2 separate regions of the Homo sapiens genome follow, and region 1 is linked to region 2. Evidence: promoter capture Hi-C in human tissues and cell types (Jung and others, 2019). All regions are on one chromosome and are shown on one strand. The core of a region is centred on a gene start or on the middle of the fragment in contact, and the rest is flanking DNA. Distances in the headings are between cores, read along the strand shown. Region 1 has its middle 90 kb from the start of CPXM2. Region 2 holds the start of GPR26 (G protein-coupled receptor 26).

Evidence for each region. The method cuts DNA at HindIII sites, captures the fragments that hold promoters and counts their contacts. A contact is called where the count stands out against the background at its distance.
Region 1: a fragment that was not itself captured here is called in contact with the fragment with the promoter of GPR26 in region 2 in 3 of the 25 tissues and cell types used here (adrenal gland, mesendoderm cells and neural progenitor cells).

What each region holds. Positions count from the first base shown.
Region 1 is chr10:123,978,583-123,985,332 of GRCh38, reverse strand. No RefSeq gene overlaps it. Among named protein-coding and RNA genes, the nearest start is that of CPXM2, 90 kb to the right of the region's middle. The HindIII fragment of the contact is 4,578 bases long and covers 2,319-6,750 here.
Region 2 is chr10:123,661,174-123,669,023 of GRCh38, reverse strand. It overlaps GPR26 (G protein-coupled receptor 26), which reads right to left and starts at 2,669. Exons shown (of 3, transcript NM_153442.4): 1 at 1,949-2,669. The coding sequence starts at 2,616. RefSeq lists enhancers at 1,847-2,384, 2,385-2,923, 2,924-3,461. The HindIII fragment of the contact is 11,073 bases long and covers 1-5,398 here.

The DNA.
Region 1 (6,750 bases), core at 3,358-5,857, 310 kb before region 2:
TGTAATGTTCAGTGTTGGAGGTGGGGCCTGGTGGGAGGTGATTGGATCATGGAGATGTTTCTCCAGAATGGTTTAGTACCATCCCCTTGGTGCTGTTCTCATAATAGCGAGTACATGAGTTCTCACAAGATCTGATTGTTTAAGTGTGTAGCACTTACCCCCTTCCTCTCTCTTGCTACTGCTTTTGCCATGTGACATGCAAGTTTCCACTTTACCTTCTGCCATAATTGTAAGCTTCCAGAGGCCTCCCAGAAGCAGACTCCAGTACTGTGCTTCTTGTACAGCCTGCAGAACCGGGAGCCAATTAAATCTCTTTACTTAATAAATTACCCAGTCTCAGGTATTTTTTTTATAGCAATGTGAGAACAGCCTAATACAGGCTGTTTTTAAGTCCATGTCTTACCCTTCTTAGTTCCTCAAACTAGATCCTGCTCAGGCCCCTATTATAAGTTAGTATGTGTTTATTTCTGTGCAAAAATTTTTGCAATCCATGCGTAGTTTTTTTCATAATATGCACTTTCCATGAACTTCTTGAAGACCCCTCACACTGTATCATGTATTTCAAAATAATTAGAAGAGAGGATTTTGAAGGTTCTCATCACAAGGAAATGATAAATGTTTGAGGTGACGGATATGCTTAATACCATGATTTTATCATTACAGAATGCATACATGTATTAAAACATGACACTGTACTTCATAAATAGGTACAATTATTGTGTGTCAATTAAAAATAAAATATAACAACAACAAAATGAACTACTAGATTCTAGGTTGGTCCTCATTCATTATTCCTCATAATCTTAATCTTTTCAGATTTTCTCTTAATCTTAATTCCTTTTAATCGTTTTCAGATTTTCTTTTTCTTTTTTTTTTTTTTTTTTTTTTTTTTTGAGATGGAGTCTCGCTGTGATGCCCAGGCTGAAGCGCAGTGGCGCAATCTCAGCTCACTGCAAACTTCCACCTCCCAGGTTCACACCATTCTCCTGCCTCAGTCTCCCAAGTAGCTGGGACTACAGGTGCTTGCCACCAGGCCCAGCTAATTTTTTTGTATTTTTTTAGTAGAGACAGGGTTTCACCATGTAAGCCAGGATGGTCTCAATCTCCTGAACTCGTGATCCGCCCTCCTCAGCCTCCCAAAGTGCTGGGATTACAGGCATGAGCCACTGCACCCGGCTTCTTTTTTTTTTTTTTCAACTTTTATTTTAGTTTCAGAGGTATATGTGCAGGTTGATTCTAGGGATAAATTGCATGTTGTGGGGATTTGGCGTACATATTACTTCATCACCCAGGTAATAGGCATAGTACCTGATAGGTAGTTTTTTTGGTCCTCACCCTTCTCTCATTCCTCACCCTCCAATCGGCCCCCAGTGTCTATTGTTCACTTCTTTGTGTCCATGTATACTCAATGTTTAGCTTCCACTTACAAGTGAGAATACATGATGTTTGGTGTTTTGTTCCTGCATTAATGTGCCTAGGATAATTGCCTCCAGCTCCATCCATGTTCCTGCAAAGAACAGATCTTGTTCTTTTTAATGGCTGTGTAGTATTCCATGGTGTATACGTACCACATTTTCTTTATTCAGTCTACAATTGATGGGCATTTAGGTTGATTTCTTGTCTTTGCTATTGTGAATAGTGCTGCAATGAACACATGTTTGCATGTGTCTTTATAGTAGAGTGATTTATATTCCTTTGAGTATAAACCCAATAATGGGATGGCTGGGTCAAATGGTAGTTCTGTTTTAAGTTCTTTGAGAAATCACCGAACTGCTTTTCTACTACAGTGGTTGAACTAATTTGCATTCTCATTAGCAGTGTATAAGTTTTCTCTTTTCTCTACAGCCTTGCCAGCATCTGTTATTTTTTGATTTTTTAGTAATAGCCATTCTGACTGGTTTGAGATGGTCATTTCATTGTGGTTTTGATTAGCATGTCTCTAATGATTAGTGATGTTGAATATTTTTTTGTATGCTTGTTGATTACATATATGTCTTCTTTTGAAAAGCGTCTGTTCATGTCCTTTGCCAACTTTTTAATCGGGTTGCTTGTTTTTTGCTTGTTAGTTCTTTTAAGTTCCTTATAGTGTCTGGATATTAGACCTTTGTCAGATGCATAGTTTGTAAATATTTTCTCCCATTCTGTGGGTTGTCTATTTACTCGGTTTTACAGTTTCTTTTGCTGTGCAGAAGCTCTTTAGTTGAATTAGGTCCTATTTGTCCATTTCAATTTTTGTTGCAATTGCTTTTGGCATTTTTGTCATAAAATCTTTGTCAGGGCCTATCTCTACAGTGGTATTTCCTAGGTTTTCTTCAAGGCTTTTTATAGTTTTAGGTTTTACATTTACATTTTTAATTTTGAGTTGATTTTTGTATATGGTGTAAAAAAGGGGTCCAGTTTCAATCTTCTGCATATGGATAACCACTTATCCCAGCACCATTTGTGGAACAAAGAGTCCTTTCCCCATTGCTTTTTTGTTGTTGCTGATTTTGTCCAAGATCAGATGGCTGTAGCTCTAAGGCTTTATTTCTGGGCTCTCTATTGTGTTCCATCAGTCTATGTGTCTATTTTGTACATGCTGTGGTGGTTACTGTAGACTTGTAGTATAGTTTGAAGTAGGGTAATGTGATGTTTCCAGCTTTGTTCTTTTTGCTTAGGATTGTGTTGTCTATTTGGGCTCTTTCTTTCGTTCCATATAAGTTTTAGAATAGTTTTGACTAAGTCTGTGAAGAATGTCATTGGTAGTTTGATAGGAATAGCATTAAATCTGTAAATTATTTTGGGCAATATTGCCATTTTAACAATATTGATTCTTCCTATCCATGGACATGGAATGTTTTTTCATTTGTTTGTGTCATCTTTGATTTCTTTCAGTAGGTTTTGTAATTCTGGTTGTAGAGATCTTTCACCTACCTGGTTAGCTGTATTCCTAGGTATTTCATTCCTTTTGTGGCTATTGTGAATGGGATTGTGTTCTTGATTTGGCACTCAACTTGGATGATATTGATGTACAGAAATGCTGCCAATTTTTGTACATTGGTTTTGTATCTGGAAACTTGGCTAAAGTTGTTTATCAGGTCTAGGAGCTTTTGGGCAGAGGCTGGGGTTTTCTAGGTATAAAATCATATTGTCTGCCAACAGAAAGTTTGACTTCCTCCATGGATGCTTTTTATTTCTTTCTCTTTCCTGACTGCTCTGGCTAGGACTTCTTGTACTATGTTGAAAAGGAGTGGTAAGAGTGGGCATCTTTGCCTTGTTCTGGTTCTCAAAGGGAATGCTTCCAGCTTTTGCCCATTCAGTATGATGTTGGCTGTGGGTTTGTCGAAAATGGCTCTTATTATTTTGAAACATGTTCCTTCAATGCCTACTTTGTTGAGGGTGTTTAACAGGAAGGGATGCTGAATTTTATTAAAAGCCTTTTCTGCATTTATTGAGATTACCGTGTGGTTTTTGCCTTTAGTTCAGTTTATGTGATGAATACATCTATTGATTTGTGTGTGTTGACCCAACTTTGTATGCCAGGGAAAGCCTACTTGATTGTTATGGATTGGCTTTTTGATGGGCTTTGGATTTGGTTTGCTAGTATTTTGTTGATGATTTTTGCATCTATGTTCAAGGATATTGTCCTGAAGTCTTTTTTTTGTTGTTGTTGGGTCTTTGCCAGGTTTGGTACTGGAATGATGCTGGCCTCACAGAATGAGTTAGGAAGGAGTCCCTCTTCCTCAATTTTTTGGAATAGTTTCAGTAGGAATGGTACCAGCTCTTCTTTGTATGTCTGGTAGAATTAGGCTGTGAATCCATCTAGTCCTGGGCTTTTCTGGTTGGCAGGATATTTATTACTCATTCAATTTCAGAACTCATTGTTGGTCTGTTCGAAGTTTGAATTTCTTCCTGGTTCAGTCTTGGGAAGTTGCATGTTTTCAGGAATTTATTCATTTCTTCTAGGTTTTCTAGTTTGTGTGCATAGGGATGTTCATAATAGTCTCTGATGTTTTTTAATATCTCTGTGAGGTCAGTGATAATGTCCACTTTGTCATTTCTAATTGTGTTGATTTGGATCTTCTCTCTTTTTTTCATGAGTTTAGCTAGTAGCCTGTCTATCTTACGTATTTTTTCAAAGAACAAACTTATGGCTTGTTGATCTTTTGTATGGTTTTTCATGTTTCAATTTCACTCAGTTAGCTCTTTTTCAGATTTTATACCTCTTCATATCTGCATTGTATTCTGTGAAATTCTCTTACATTTATCTCCCAGTTCACCAAATCTTCCTACTTGTCTAAACCATCAATTCTGCTATTTAAACTATTAAGTTTTTAAATGACTTTTGGGGTTCATTTTCAGTCTGAGAACTACAATTTGGCTCATGTTCAGGTCAGGCTGTTATTATTTTTTAAATAGAAGCTTATTTTTTCAACATGATTTTTATCCCTTCTTTATGTGTTTAATCATTTAAAATGTATTTGGTATATAATTTGATTTGGGCTATTCTGTCATCACAAGTGTCTGGGGGATCTAATTATGCTGTTGATTGTATCTGCTGACTTCCCTTATTGTGAATTGTTTCTTTGTGTAGTTTGTGATTTTAAAAAAATCATTGGAAGTTTTCTTCAGCTGGTGTTGCCATTGTTTTCCCCTGTGGGAGTCTCATGTGGCCTGGCATTGAAGATGTCTTTAGAAAAGGAGTTCTCTTTGCTTTAGTTTTGGAGCCAAGGGATCACTCTTCTGAAATTCATTATATATATATAAATATATTGTATATAATATAATTATATTTTATAAATATATCATATATATGTAATTATATTTTATAAAAATATCTATATAATTGATTATATTTTATTTATAATTATATTTTATATATATTTGGTTTGGGATTTCCTTACTTTGTGGGAAGTATAAATTAAAACTTTACATCTGATTGGGATGGAATGAGTTTGGAGTTTCCATTTCCAGTGGGATATTTTTCCCCTTTGCTTTTTCTGTGCAGTCAAGCTTGGTTCTGGAGATTTTGCTTGAGTTTTTCTAGTTCCTCTTATAAGAAGGGGGCAGTCTTCCAGGGTCTCAACTCTACTCAGAGTTCTTAGTTCACCTCTGCCTCATGCAGGTCAAAGTCATATTCCGTTTCTCCTAATCAGCATCAAAACCCAGCTGTGAGCCCTTAGGACATGTGTTCACATTTGATGTTTCCCTGGGCTCCTGGTGTGTTGGCTCATGGATTACCCGCTGGCTGTAGTTTCTATTTTATTTCTGTTCAAGAAGTGTCTTTTTTCCTTCCTTCAAGTTTTCCTATGAATTAAAAGGACATTGACATATATTTGGAGGCAGAGATTGCTAGCATAGCAGAAAAGGAGATTTCCTAATTAACTTTTTGTTATTAATTTCTAGATTAATTTCACAGTGGTCAGAGGGTTAATTTCACAGTTGTCAAGAGTGATTCAAATCCCTTGAAATCTGTTGAGAATTGTTTTATGACCCAGCATATGACTGATTTTATTAAATGTTATGTGTGCACTTAAAAAGAATGCATATTCTGTCATTGTAGGATACAGTGTTAATTAGGTCAGGCTAATTGTGCTATTACTGATTTTCTGTTTGCATTTCTATCATATATTGAGAGGAGTGTGTTTGTGCCTCTGAATATTATTGTGAATTTGTCTCTTTTTCTTTTTTAGTTCTGTCTGTTTTTGCTTTATGAGTGGATTGATCCTTTTATCATTGCAAAGCAACTGCTTTATGTCTAGCAATGCTTCTTACCTTCCAGTCTACTTTTCTGATATTAGAATAATGATACCAGCTTTCTTTTGTTTAGTGTTTATCTGGCATAGCTTTTTTCAACTTTGACTTTCATCCTTTTTTGCTTTTGAGGTGGGTCTCCTGTAACCAGTATATACTTGAGTTAATAAAATCAGATCTGACTATTTTGGTCTTACTTGAAGTATTTAGTCAATTTATATTTGACATAATTATTAATATATTAGAATTTATAGTTACCATTTTACTTTTTGTGTTGTACCCATTTTATGTTGCTTTTCCATGTCTTGGGTTTTTTTTTTACTTTCTTTTGGATGAATAGTTTTATTATTCTATTTTCCCTATATAAACTTGGTACTTAAGTATTTTAGTAACTACTGTAAATGTTGCAACATGTATCCTTGATTTAATATTGTCTAATATAATTTAGGACTTTTATTTCTTTTACACAATGTTGAGACCTTAGAATACTTTATTGCTCCCATTCTTTTCCTTTACTCTTGTCAATATATATTTTAAATCCCACTAGACATCATTTTTGATGTTTCGTATGGTTAATATTTATTTATATTTACATATATACTCTTTCTGTAGCTTTCAATTTCTTCATGCATTTCAGTTTTTAAATCTGGGTTCTTTTCCTTTGTCTGAAGAATTTCTATTGGCATTTATTTTACACTGGGTTTTTCTGTTTTGGTGTCTTTAAATAATATTTTCCCTTCATTTTTGAAAGATGTTTTGGAAATTGCCTTTGCAAAAATTAGAACAGTGAGAAAATTATGATAGTGAAAGATCTAATCAACTCCATCTTGCTTTTAACCTCCAAACTGCCCTTGGCCATTCCTGAGCATGGGCCAGACTAACTTTGGGAGACTAAAACATAATAGCTCTTCCCAAAACTAAGCCACCTTTGCAAAACTAATGAAAGGCAACCAGGTTAGGAAGATTAGAGGGACCTGAATTCTGCTAAGATGCAGGCATAGTTAAATGATTACCAGC
Region 2 (7,850 bases), core at 1,420-3,919:
TAGCTGCCTCCACTCCTGAGACCCCAGGACTCTCTCTGCAGTGTCTGGCCTGACATCGGCCAGAGGGATTTGCAGGAGTGGAGCTGGCCCTACATCCCAAATAGGCTGAACAGGAACCACGGCCCCTCCTCTTCTGGAAGTTGGAGGAAGAGTGGGAATGCAGTTTGTACTGCTCTAAATAAGAACTGGTTCCACTCCCAGCTCAACCCTCCTCCGCTGTTAGACTCATGGTGAGAGGGCCCCCTCTAGGAGTCTTTAGTCCCGGGAGTTAAACAACATTGCCCTACATCTTCTAAGAGCAGTCCCAGCCCAAGCGCTAAGGATGCACCCTCTAAGGAAGAGCCTCTCAGCTCTGAGTCATGGAAAGGGCAATAGCTCTGCAACTGTGGCTGCAAATATTTCCTTGAAGGACACTGAACCATGCAGAGACATGTGCTGTGACAGCCAATGTATGTCTTTGTGGCAGAATGCACTCGTGTCACTCCTGTAAACCTGTGTACACATGGCCAGCTGTCTGGTACATATACAGTTTATGTGTGAACACATGAGATTGTGTGTGGAGCTCCCACGTTTACATGGCCTGGTATCTATGTGCTCTCAGTCACTCACATGTACATTCTGTTCCTGAATCTGTGGGGATTCTGTGGCTGGAAGATTGGTCCAGTGTGTAATCAGGAATGGCTGTGCTCAGGGGGACAATGAACACGTGCACACTTGCCCTTCAATGTGTCGGCATTGTGAAGGTCAAGGACTGCTTGTTACTGCTCTCGTGCAGGAAATACTCAGAATGCTCAGCCTGACACCTCCAGCCTGTCCCCTTCAACCCTGGTGTGGAACATATCCACCAGAGGATAGAGCTTCCTCTGCCCCGAGGCTCCCCTGGGTTCCCAGGGTTCTCCCACACGGAAGGCCCTCGCTGGCCCTGTCAGAGCTCTCTGCCTGCCTCACCTGCGACACCATCTGGACCCCAGCACCCCCTTATCTAGGGTCCCAGGACACAGAGCAGGGAGCCTGCCTTCCCCTGGGACAACAGGATGTAAAATAGCAGAGTCCAGACGCTGCCAGCTGTTTCCCTCCTCGATTTCCTATTCTCCTGGGGAAAGCTGAGGTGAGCTCAGGACAGCGCAGCTAAGAGTTCCCTCCTTCTCTCCCTGACAGGCTCCTGCGATGGCAGGGGTTCCCAGAGGGTACCCATGCTTGCCCAGCTCCATCTGCCCTCCTGAGAACAGCAGCCAGCGTGACGACGGAGGTGGGGGCAGATTCAGCCCCAGGAGCCTTGGGGCACACTCCTTCTGCAGGAGCCTCTAGGCACCAAGTCAGGCAGACATTGGACAGTGCTCTCTGGGGAGGGCAGGAAGAGCCCCCCACCCCACCCCTCAGGGCCCACCACAGAGAAGGACGCAGCCCGAGTCCATCAGAATTCACACACACACACACACACACACACACACACACACACACAGTCGTGAGACAGAGGCAGCGCCACACACCCGAGAAGGGAAAGACTCAGAGAAGCGACACACTTGGGTCTGAAAAGCTCTTAAGGAGCTCCCTAAGCATCGAGGCCGCCCTCTCGGCCAGAATCAAACACTTTGAAGGTCTTTAATAGGGAACAAAGACCACGGACTTCCCATGTGCCATTTAAAGTGAAAGCTACAAACACAGAAAATGTGCATGAAGAAGCCCAACAGAGTTCTGACTGTCTGTGATTTCTACCCTGATGCTTCAAAAACCGATGTATAGATGGGCTCACCCGCATTTTTTGTGGCCCTGGTTTGCTGATACCCTAAGCACCTCCTTAAGCCCCACAGCTGGGCCGCTTTCCCCACCCTCGAGTTCTCAGAAGAAACAGAGGCTCGGTGGAAAAGAGCCCCTGGGGCTAGGGACCTCCCACTCCCGCCGAGATCCCGCGCGGCTGTTCCCAGAGCCTTAGCTGCGCTCGGCTCACCTGGGGTGCAGGTCCACCAGCAGCACCAGCGTCTGCATGGTGATCACGTCGATGCGCTTGCAATGGAAGCGGGCCACCTTGAGCACCTTGAGGTACGTGCAGCAGAGCACGACGAAGGAGAGCAGGAAGCTGAGAGCGTGGAAGGCGCCAGTGAAGACGGCGAAGCGCAGGCGCTCGTCTGGCCGCCGGCTGCACAGCGTGCACGAGGCGTACAGCTGGTGGAAGCCGAGCCAGGACAGGGCGAGCGCGGCGGCTGGGAAGGTGAGCGCGTGCAGCCACGTGTAGGCCACCATGAGCGCCGCGTCGCGGAGGCGCATCTTGGCCCGGTAGCTCAGCGGGAAGACCACGGCCACCCAGCGGTCGATGCTGAGCGCGGCCATGCTGAGCATGGAGTTGGCAGCCAGGAAGGTGTCGAGGAAGGCAGCCAGGCGGCACAGGCGGTCGCCCGCCGGCTGCCGCTGCGCCACGACGCCGGCCAGCGTGAGCGGCATGTTGACCACGGTGCACAGCAGGTTCCCGCACGTGAGGTTCAGGGTGAAGAGCGCCGGCGCCTGGCGGCGGATGTCCGCGCTGTGCAGCAGGCAGAGCAGCACCAGCGCGTTGGACAGCAGCGAGACGCCCATCGTGCCCACCAGTAGCCCCGCCAGGCCCGCGTCCCACGAGTTCATGGTGCGCGCCCCGCGCCGGCGCTCAGGGTCCGCAACCCGGCGCCGCCATGGCGCTGCCCGCGGCCGGCTCAGCCCCTCGGCGCCGCCGCCGCCCGGCGACCACCGGCCCCAGCCGCCATGGCTCCCAGGAGGGCGCGCGGCCACCCCGGAGCCTCAGGCGGCCTCCCGGGCAGGCGTCTGGGCGCGCAGCCACCCGGGAGCCCCGCGCCGCCTCACGGGCAGGCACCTGGCGCGCGGCAGTGAACCCTGGCCCCCAGCAGCACCTCTGGAGCCAGCGACTGAGCGTGCGGTAGAACCCGAAGCCTTTAGCGCCCCGGGATCCTGGGTTGCAGGCACCTGCGCCCCTGCTCCGCCTCTGCCTCTGCTTCCTCCCGCTCTCACCCCATGCCCGCGAGCTCTGTCTCCGCTCCGCTCCGCGCACCCTCCCGCTCTCTTGCTTTCTCTCTTCCTCCCTCTCTGCTCTCTGGCTCGCTCTCTCTCTCTCTGCTCTCCCCTCCACCTCTCTCCCTCTCCCCGCCCCCCGCGCTGTTCTCTCCGTCTGTCTCTCCCACCCCCAATTTTCTCCCCTCTCTTGTTCTTCCCCCTCCTCTTCTCTCTGTCTCTGGAATCTGGCTGCTTCTATCACAGAAATCCCCACTGGTGCACACACAGACACACTCGCGCACACACACTCACACTTACAGGCTCGGAGGGAACCAGCCCCGAAGGCTCCGGTGCAGGGTGATTGGCTCACTGTGGCTCCCTTCCCCCAACATCCTCCATCCCCCCGTGTGTGTCAAAGACAGGCTGAGTCAAGGAAATCTCTCTGAGAAAAGGAAGGGATGCCTGGACACCTTCACGCCCCAGTGCCACCTGTCCCCGCCTGCATGCTATCCTGGCAGACCTTGACGTGAGTGTCCCAGCCTGTCTGTCCCAAGAACAGCTGCTGCATGACTGAGGTTACTCGATTCTCAGTGCCTTCTTTCCCTCGCCCTACAGCCAGAGCTTCGGCTGAATCCTAAGCCTGCTGCAGGGACCCCGAGGCTCTCTGTAACATCCCCTGGGCATCTCTCCAGCTGGGAGATGCCTTTGCTGACCCTGACTGCTCCCACCTGGGCAAGCCAGGCTGTCCACAACCAGCCTAGACAGCTAACCCTAGTATGGTGGATACTCTGTTGTCCTGCTCCAAGTTCCAGCAGCTGCCTCCTGTAGCCCTGAAGCCACACACCCCTCTGCCCTGAGACTGGTGAGGCAGCACATTCTAGTTTATGAGGGACCTGCCTGATATAAGGTGCCAGAACTCTTCAGAAAATGGGGAGGGTGTCAGCTGGCAGGCATGGTCCAAGCAACAGAGACCCTGGACACAGGGGACCCCTGCCTCCCCTCAGCAAAGTGTGCAGGGACTGTGGCCCTTCGGTTCTCAACCAAGACTCTGTGGGGAAGGGGTGGGGATGGACAGGCAGGGGCAGCTCTCAGAACCCCTGCAGCCCCCTTCAACTCTGTGAGATGCTGCCCTGCAGTGACCCCCTGCACCATGTCAGCAACCTCAGATCCCTGTCCTGGACATAGAAAGCCCTGTTCTGGAGCCTCCTGGTGTGGCCAGTGGTGACTGGACATTCCTGGGCCTCAAGCCACTAGATAAAGTAAGCCAAGCAAGGACGTGGTGGACTCTACGCCCTGAAGGTAGAGACCTCATTATACTTAATTATCTCCTTCACATAGTACCAAGCACATTGTAGATGCTGTATTGTGCCATTTTTCTTTGCTGTAAAGGAATACCTGAGATTGGGTAATTGATGAAGAAAAGAGGTTGAATTGGCTCATGATTCTGCAAGGTATGCAATCATGGCTCCAACATCTGCTCAGCTTCTGATGAGGGCCTCAGGAAGCTTCTAATCATGGCAAAAGGCAAAGTGGGAGCAGGCATGTCACATGGCAAGAGTGAAAGCCAGAAAGAGAAGGGGGAGGTCCCAGGCTTTTAAACACCATATCTCTCATGGACTGAGAAGTCATTCAGGATGGTGCCAACCCATTCATGAGGGCTCTGCCCCCATTATCCAATCGCCTTCGCCTCCCACCAGGGCCCACCTCCAACATTGGGGATTATGTTTCAACATGAGATTTGGAGGGGACAAACATCCAAACTTTATTAAATGCTCATGAAATGAGGTGTCAGGAGGGCAGAAACAAGATTCCCTCTCTTCTCTGTGTGTCCACAGATGACACTCATTGACAGTTATCTGAGTGACTGACAGCTGCAGACAGTGGAGTTCTGAAGCCAGCTCACACCAGCTCAAAAGGGCCCATTATGGGCATCTCTCTCCATCTCTGCTTCAGTGACAGCATGTTGGTTGCTTAAAATCCACCACAATGAGTTTTTGCATTATAGAAATCAGCAAACTCCATAGATCAGGGCTTCTCCCACCCCAGCCTGTGGTTAAACATTTAACGACACACCACTCACTGATTTCATAGGACCCTGGGCAACTTACTCAACATCCCTGAGGCTAGGTTTTCTTATTTACCTTTCAGAGCCGTGGTGATGACTACATAAGGTAATGTGTACGTTTAGCTTTGCTTCCCAGAGAAGGAAACAGGGCAGAATGCTAGCAATATCATCAACCCTTGGCCCCCTCATGTAGCCTACAGATTTTAGTGTTGGCTACATGTCTCATTAAATACCTGTTATATGACAGCAGAGGACGCTGTTCATCTGTGTGTCTCTCCTGCTGCCAAGGAAGTGTCCCCTACAAATAGCTCCTGGCAGGAGATAGGAGCTATTTGTGCTATAGTTTGAATGTGTCCCCCAAAGTTCATGTGTTGGAAACCTGACCCCCAATGCAACAGTATTGGGAGGTGGGTCCCAATGGGAGGTGTTTGACTCATGGAGGCACTGCCTTCATAAGTGGATTAGTGCCATTATCATGGGAATGGGTTCCTTATTAAAGGATGAGTTTGCCACCACCCCCTCCTTCTCTCTCTCTCTCTCTCCCTGTGTGTCTCCCTCCCTCTGCTCTTCCACTTTCTGCCAGGGGATGATGTAGCAAAAAGTCCCTCACCATATGCCAGCCCCTGAATTTTGGACTTCCCAGCCTCCAGAACCATGAACAATAAATTTCTATTCATTACAAATTACCAAGTCTCAGGTATTCTGTTATATCAGCACAAAATAGACTAAGATAGTGCCCAAGTACTGTCTGTGGAGTAAATCAGCCAATGTTTTGGGGTCACTATTGGATCTGTGATTCTCACACTTTTGTGTGTATCAGAGTCACCTGGTAAGCCTGGGGTGCTGGTTAAAGAGTTTGATTCCTGGGCCACACCCCCTGGGGTTTCCAAATCAGAAGGTCTGGAAGTCTGCATTTTCATGAGCTCCTTAGATAGTTCTGGTGAGGGTGGTCTGTGGTCATGCTCTCAGGAGTGTGCTCTATGAGAAATGGTCAGGGTAAGCCACTGGATGCCAAACAATCACCTGGGCACATCCTCCAACCATGACCTGATGTTCTGGCCTGGAGGCACTCACTGAAGCCTCACCAGAGACTCTAGACATGCGGGATCCCATTTATATTTTTATATCTTTATATAAATATTTATTTATATTTATATTGACAATATAACATGTCAATTAATATTCTCCTAGCACATTGGAGTTTATAAAACATGTCCAAACATTACCATACTTTATTTAGTTCTTGCAACAAAGACAGGAAGAAAAGCTTCTATTGCTGCCCCACGTTTTCCAGATGAGAACCCAAAGACTCAAAGAAGTTAAGTGACAGAGTTGGTGAGGGATGAAGCCAGTACCTCTAGCTCCATGGCTTGGCTCTTTCTGCACACTCCAGAGGTCCTCAGCCACCTTCTCAGGAAGGTGTCCTTGGGCTGTAACTTAAAAGTGTCTCAATTTTGCAACACCAAACTGATGTTGGTGACTTGGTAACTAGGTCCAACATCAATAAACAAATGAACACACACACACACACACACACACACACATTTATATACCCTCTCACATATTTTAAAGATCATTTGCTTTCTGAATTCCTAAAGGCAACATTGAAAGGTTAAAATGCCAGAAAGACACTCAGAATATATTAACTCAGTTTCCTAAAGAGACTGAGCTCATTTTCCTCTAGTTTTAAGCAAAATTTCCTGCCTTCAGTTGGACCATGGTTTGAGGGGGCGCTGATATCCCATAGTAACCAGGGCCCCAATCCTGTTAGCTTCAGCCAGGCTGAGCCTCCCCAAACATGGATTCCAACATGGCCCCAGACACCAGTTGGCAGTGAGATCACACTCAGCAAGGAGGGGAGATGCATGTCCCTATCCAGGCCTTGATACAAGTCCTCACTGCACCTCCATGAAAAGCCACATGATTGATCCCACCTGACCAGGGGCAACAAGGCCTGGAGTGTGCCCACCAGGAGAACACATTGTGGCTGGATCTGCATGGCTTGCTCCTTCAAGCTGGAGGGAAGTCAGCAGCAATGGAATGTTCGTGACAGAGTCAACGTGAATCACTAAATGCTGTAACTGGTACCCAAGGGAGAGCTCAAAACAGAACTATGGTAAAGGCAGATGGAAGTGCACGTCATCGCCTATCCTGCAGCAACCCTGCGGCATAAATATCATGATTCCATCTTGACAAGTGAAGGAGCTGAGACTCAAAGAGGTCCATATTTGTTTAAGGTCACTCCAAGTAAGCACCAATAGATAGAATAAAATGAATTGATGAAAAGTCAGGATTCAAATCCATTGTTATTTCCACTGTGCTACTGTCTTTAATCCATGAATATGCCTGAGTACACACTCCAATGAGAGGTTGCAGACTGCAGTGGTCCTTTCCACCACTATCTTTAGAAAGAGATGAAATATTGATATAAAATGAACACAAACCAGAATGTCACCAATGCCCCAAGGGAAGTTTTGTAAAAGTGCCATGGACACAGAGAGCACAACCCTTGGGGAAATCTGGAGCTCTGCAAGTGGAGTGGGACCAGGGCCTGGCATTCCATGGGAAAAGAAGTGCCTGAGCAAATGCCTGGAACCTGAAGCCTGGCATGTGGTTGTGGCTCTTGAGCATAACATAGGTCTGTAGAAAAGCAGGAAGAAAGAGCATTGGCAAACTCTGGATGCAAACTGTGGATGCCAGCCCAATGTCAGGCTGGACAGGAAGGTCAGTCCCATTCAGATGTTAACTTCAGGACCTGCAGCATCCAGTCATTCTGGGGATAGGTCCCTTCTAGTCTCTCCACCTT